Regions from separate parts of the Homo sapiens genome. Here region 1 is linked to region 2. The links are contacts of gene promoters, found by promoter capture Hi-C in human tissues and cell types (Jung and others, 2019). All regions are on one chromosome and are shown on one strand. The core of a region is centred on a gene start or on the middle of the fragment in contact, and the rest is flanking DNA. Distances in the headings are between cores, read along the strand shown. Region 1 has its middle 250 kb from the start of LINC02871. Region 2 holds the start of SNAP25 (synaptosome associated protein 25).

The links. The method cuts DNA at HindIII sites, captures the fragments that hold promoters and counts their contacts. A contact is called where the count stands out against the background at its distance.
Region 1: a contact is called between a fragment that was not itself captured here and the fragment with the promoter of SNAP25 in region 2, in 1 of the 25 tissues and cell types used here (dorsolateral prefrontal cortex).

What each region holds. Positions count from the first base shown.
Region 1 is chr20:11,274,146-11,277,433 of GRCh38, forward strand. No RefSeq gene overlaps it. Among named protein-coding and RNA genes, the nearest start is that of LINC02871, 250 kb to the left of the region's middle. The HindIII fragment of the contact is 6,189 bases long and covers 1-3,288 here.
Region 2 is chr20:10,217,535-10,220,613 of GRCh38, forward strand. It overlaps SNAP25 (synaptosome associated protein 25), which reads left to right and starts at 1,296. Exons shown (of 8, transcript NM_130811.4): 1 at 1,296-1,443. SNAP25-AS1 (SNAP25 antisense RNA 1) reads right to left here and starts at 1,972. Exons shown (of 5, transcript NR_040710.1): 1 at 1,703-1,972. The HindIII fragment of the contact is 5,357 bases long and covers 1-3,079 here.

The DNA.
Region 1 (3,288 bases), core at 428-2,927, 1.1 Mb after region 2:
TACCTTCCAAGTAGGATCACAGTGAAGGCTTCCAGAATCTATTTTGCCTCTTTCCCAGCAATCAGGGCTCAGATTACCCTGGGCGACAGTAGCACACTTGTGTATGCAGTGACATCTAGTGACAAAGAAAATAAAACCGGCTCCAAGGACACTTTCTTCACCAGACAGACTCCACAAAAATGACGCAGTACCTATCATTACTGTAGATTCGTGCATAGTATCCTATAGAGATTGCAAAAGAGATACACCAGTTTCTACACCAGATATGTTCAAAGAGGTAATACAAGAAGTATCAGTAAGGTTTGGCAAACAGCCGTGGTATCAGAATCCAAACAGGTAATTAAAACAGATTTATTTCTGTCTTATGTGCCCATAGTAAAAACTGCTGTTAATGATTTGGACACAGAGTTCGTGTGGAATGTTCTGAAGAACCACTGACATCTTCCAAGAAAAGAATCCATTAAGATGAATAGAATTTGCTACTTGAAATTCATGTCCAAAAGTTTAGAAAATATACATATGCAAGTTACTCAGGCAAGACAAAGATTTAACCAACTCTCCAAGTTATCTTAATCAAGCTGAAACCCACTTTAGATTAATTGGAGTAGGCCATAATAAAATATTTCCTGTTTCCTTTTGTCAGATTTTAGGATTTTAAGCAAAATGAATAAAATATATACAAAATCACAACTTTCTCTGTATAACAGGAACTTGGGGTCTTGTCTTCGTAGAGTTAGAAGAAAGTGAAATCTACAGATGTTAACTAGCTACACTGGAGGCAGGTTAGTGCTGTCCCGCTGAGGACTCCAGTTTTTAATCACCATCCTCACCCCACAGGACCTTTCAGGAGGCAGTGATAGTGCAGCCTACACCTGGAGGTCTCTCAGATTCTGGTGATCTTCAGTGAGGCCTTGGAGTCGGAATTTTGAGCAAACGCCCAGGTGATTCTTATGCAATTCTGCCATATCCTACCTTTTCTTATATGCTCCAGTGCAAAAGTAAAAATACCACTTGGGATATGGAGAGGGTTTAAACTTTGTAAAGGTATCCACAGTTGCCTGGGACTCGGACTGTAAGTAAACCATGAACCAGTTTATCCATGTGTGGCTACAACATTATTAAAAACAGTGTAATTGCCAGTATATTCTCAAAATGGGTTGCAAAGTGGCTGAAAAAAATAACTGGTTTTGGCCGGGCTCAGTGTCTCATGCCTGTAATCCCAGCACTTTGGGAGAATGATGTGGGTGGATAACCTGAGGTCAAGAGATCAAGACCAGCCTGGCCAACGTGGTGAAACCCTGTCTCTACTAAAAATACAAAAATCAGCCAGGTGTGGTGGCGGGCACCTGTACTCTCAGCTACTCGTGAGGCTGAGGCAGGAGAATCGCTTGAACCCGGGACACAGAGGTTGCAGTGAGCCAAGATCACGCCACTGCACTCTAGCCTGGGTGACAGAGCGAGACTCCACCTCAAAAACAACAACAAAAACTGGTTTCCTTTTTTTCTCCCTCCCTCCCTCCCTTCCTTACTTCCCTCCCTCTCTCCCTTCCTTACCTCCCTCCCTCTTCTCTTCCCTCCCTCCCCTCCTCCTTGCTTCCTTCCTTCCTCCCTTCTCTCCCTCCCTCCCTCCTTTCTTTCCCTCCCTTCCTTTCTTTCTTTCTTGCTTCCTTTCTTCCTTCCTTCCTTCTTTTTTCTTTTTTCTCCTTCCTTCCTTTCTTCTTTCCTTTCTTCCTTGGTTCCTTCTTTCTTTCCTTCCTTCTTCTCTTTGTCCCTCCCTTTCTCCCTCCTTTGTCTGTCTTTCTCTCTCTCTCTCTTTCTGTCGCTCTCTTTCTTTTTCTTTCTTCTCTCTTTCTTTTCTTTTCTTCTTCCTTCCTTTCTTGTTTCTTTTCTTCCTCGCTCCCTTCCTTCTTTCCATCTTCTCTCTCTCCCTCCCTCCTTTCCTCTCTCCTTTGTCTGTCTTTCTCTCTCTCTCTTTCTTTCTCTCTCTCTTTTTTTCTTTTTTCTCTTTCTCTCATCTTTCTTTTCTTCTTTCTTTTTTCTTTTTTAATGATTGTCATTTCTATATTCAGGGCTCTCTTTCTTTTCCCCCATGGAAAAATTAAGTCTATAAGCAATAAACTCTTTTAAACAAATTAGGCTTAAAGTTGTATCTTTAAAATACTAGCTATATAGCATGGCTTAGCCCTGATGAAGGCATTCTGAGTTTTTCTGAATTATTGATTGTGGATTCAATGCTTGGAAATTTAGTAATTGCTGATATAGCAAGGGAGCCTGCATGTAAAGAATTCTCAGTAAATTCTTTAGTCGAGTTGTACAAAGAAATAACCAACACATTTATAAAAATCCCACATTGTCACAAAGTAAATTATTAGTTGATTATTCTCCTTATACAAATTTGTATACATATATATATGGTTTATTTAAAGCTGGCAATTCATGTGGACATTTATAATAAAAACTATGTTTCTGTTGCATTTAGACATTCATTTACACTCTGCCTTAGAATTTAGATTTCAGGGCTTGCTGTTTTTGTTTGAATTAAGGTTGTTTTTTTTTTTTTTTCTCATTTGTATTGGTTTCTCAATGTCTTTCCTTTGAGGTTTTGAACGTAAACTAACATTGCCAGGTGACTTTTTCACATATAATTCTACTATCTGAAAGACCTGGGAAAAGCTCTTTGACATTGATTTTCTACTGAATGGAGATTTGAGCTGGGGTCTGCAGAGCCTCAGGGATCTGGGGCATGCTTCAGGTGCTGCAGGGAGTAGGGGGTGGGTGGAAGAAGTTTGGGGCTGCCCCAGAGTCCCCTCAAGCAGAGTCTTGGAATTTAATTTATGAATTTTGACTCAAAAAAAGGTTTCTTCCACTTTAACTACATTTGCAAAATACTAATTTGGAGGTTTTCTTGAAAAATTATCACCCCTCCCACTACCCTCCACTACTTCGTTTCCTTTTTATTAGCTCATTGGTTTAGTTTTGTCCCGGGACCAGTTGTTAAAAGCTTTCACAGATCCACAATTCCAGACACTGTGTGTGGAGACTGGAACGACTTAACCCATAATGCCCTATGCTCAGCTGAGACCCAGTAATGCCCTGTGCTCAGCTCAGAGGCTTGTTTGTCCCCACTCTGTAGTTTCCATATGGGTTACTGGGACCTCCTACTCTATTTTATTTTATTTTATTTTATTTTATTTTATTTTATTTTATTTTATTTTATTTTATTTTATTTTACTTTATTTTACTTTATTTTACTTTGTTTTATTTTATTTTATTTTATTTTACTTTATT
Region 2 (3,079 bases), core at 46-2,545:
TCCTCAGACGAGGTCCCCCACCTCCCACGCGCTCCCCAGCCCTCCCTCCCTGCGGAGAGCCCCGCGACAGCCTCCCCAACACCTGTGAATCATCCGGGAGGCTGCCACCGCCGAGCGATCCGCGCACCACCCCCTTCCCGGGCCCGGGCACGGCCAGGGAGGACAGTTAGGGTTGTTGCTTTATAATTATCACTTTTAATCTCTAATACGACCAGCACAAGTAGCCTTTGTCTCCCCGCCCTGATTTGAGCATCCGAGGGCCCCCCGAGGCAGCCTGCACGGGTACCCCGGGGTTTGCGCACTGAGTGAACCCCCAGATTCGGCCGTGTCCCAGCCGTCCTTGCTCTGAATCCCCCACCTCCTCCCGGCCGTTTGGACGGTTCCCTCGGGGCGTCTGTGCCTCCGTGGGGTACCCCTAAGACACCCAGCATGAAACCCCAGCACCGACTGCAAATTCCACCGAAAGCAGAGTCATCCGTTTTTGCCCTCGGCAAACAACTCAACTTCAAGCCTCGAGTCCTTGCAAACCCACGCTGGCTGGGCTAACTCCGCTTCCCTTCTCCTTCCCCCGACTCCTGCAACAGCTCAGAGAGCCTGGCTCTGACGTAGTTCAAAATAACGTGCGCCAGCCTCGCTGCCCGGCTGACCACAGCAACGAGAGCCACAAGCCCTCGACGCTGCTTCGATAACATGAAGCAATCACTCATAAAAATAGCAACCCACGTAGCCTGGCCATATATGGAGCTGGCGAGGGTGGACGGGGATGCCCCTACGGACCCTCTTCGGAGAAAACAAATCGCCGCTGAAATTTCCCCCACCCCTCCCATCACTACCTTTTACCCCTCCTCTGCCTTCCCCTCTCCTTAGATGACTCAACCACAGATTCCACTGAAAGGGGGTGGGGGTGGGGGTGGGGGGGAATATATACACATACACACAAATTATACATATATTATACATGTATTATAAAATATACACACACATACATATATACATACACACACATATACACATATGTACACACACACGCACACACACCAAAGAACATCAGGAATGCAGTTGCGGGATGAACGCGTTTGCCCAAGACCGAGTGTTAAAATGGAGTCATAAGAGTCGCCCCGTGCGGGTGTTTATAGAAGGTGAAAACACGCAGGTTTGCAGGCCAGCGCACTGGGAACCGAGTCAAGCGCGCCGCAGCCCGGGCCCCGCCCCCGCCCCCGCCGTGCCCCGCCCCCACTTCCTCCCGCCCCTCGCTGGGCGGCTATTAAAAGCTGCTGACGTCAAAACGGACGGCCATCTTTGATGAGGGCAGAGCTCACGTTGCATTGAAGACGAAACCTCGGGGAGGTCAGGCGCTGTCTTTCCTTCCCTCCCTGCTCGGCGGCTCCACCACAGTTGCAACCTGCAGAGGCCCGGAGAACACAACCCTCCCGAGAAGCCCAGGTAAGAACCCCCCTCCCCAGGTCGTGGCTCTGGCTCGGGATGGCTGCATACCCAGAAGGGACAGCAGCTGGGCAGTCCGAGTGGGCTTGGGTAAATACAAGTATTGGTGCACTTAGGGTGCGGTATTCCGTGTGTGCACGTCTGGTGGGGGCTTTATAAAGTGTTTTCGAGGTGAGCTGCTGGGGAAAAGGGAAACGGGAGCCCTGCAAATGGAGCGACGGGGAGGAAGAGCGAGGGTACGTACCGAATAATAACTTACTCTTTTGAAACAGTAGTGGGACCCCCTCTTTCTTCCATTTTGCGATGCAGTTTTCAGAGATATTTAGGCTGTTGAGTTTTCCTCCCCTGTCGTTCTAACCCTATTATTATGACTGTTGTCGTTAGGGTGCTATTATCCAGGGAAGAATTAAGGGGGAGACAGGGTGTGGGTGCTGGGGAGGCGAAAGGAGAAAGGGGGAGTTCCCGCCCCGGGCAAGCTGAGCTGCTGCAGCGACAGCAGCCTCCATGCCCCGCGGACTTGATTTATGCCGCCTGCTCCACGTCAACTGCAGGCTGGCGGGAGGCGGGCGGGTCGTGCCGGGTGGGAGGGCTCTGCGGAGGGCTGGCGCGGGTGGGCTGGCTTCGGGGACTGCGGCGGCCCGCGCTCAGCACCCTGGATAGCAACACCGAGGGCTCGCGCGGGCGCCCTCGACCTTTCAGCACCGGGGACAGCGGTCCGGCCGCAGCGCCTCATCTGCCTGCGGCAGAAATGCCTGGCCGGGGCTGGATGTGCCAGGGCTGGAGACCAAATTGTCTCCCTGAGACCCCGGTCTTACGGAGACCCTTAATAGAGGAGTCATAGTAGCTTAAAAGAAAACAAGAAAGAAATAAATCTTCCTCACAGAGACTCCTTTGCAGACAATTTCCTGTTCCCCTCCTCACCTCCTGCATAGCTTCAACAAAATAGTCTACTTGTGGAAATCTTCTGTGTTGCCCTCTGACCCTTATTTTACGTAGAAAATAAATACATTTTTTAAAAAATATGGATTTATCCTCCAGCAGGGTATCAAGGTTTTTGTTTGGTTTTGTTTTTTAACACAGAGTAGATCTGTCTACAGATCTTGGGTGAGCATAAGTACTGTATATATGAAGAAGCCAATGCTATCTGTTTATAGGGATGATACATCTCTCTCTATGTTTCCATTTGATAAAAATGTGAGATTAGCTGAACTAAGCAGAATCAACTTTAAGAATGAATCACTCTTCCTTTTCCTTCTTCCCCCATCCTTGCAATCAGGCATGAATACAAGCATTCATCCACAAAAACACATATCTGAGAAATTTTACTGGTCCTGTACTGAATAGATTTAACCTCTTTGGCCACGGTTTCAGAGTTACTGGAAGTATTTGCTATCAGCACTGGTTATCGCAGGCTGATAGCTTTAGATTTTGACAATATTAAGACTGGCCTTCCTCAGGAGAATCCAAGTGTGTCCTTCAGGGTAATGCAGGTAAAGAACCATGGTGTTAAACTAGAACTTAACTCTGACCTAAAGGTCTACTGCAATTTCTCTTATGGCACTGCGGGATTTTGCTGAGGTGGTAATAACTACTTTAACCATTTTCTACTCTGAGGCTTGGAGCATCTGAGAGAGCA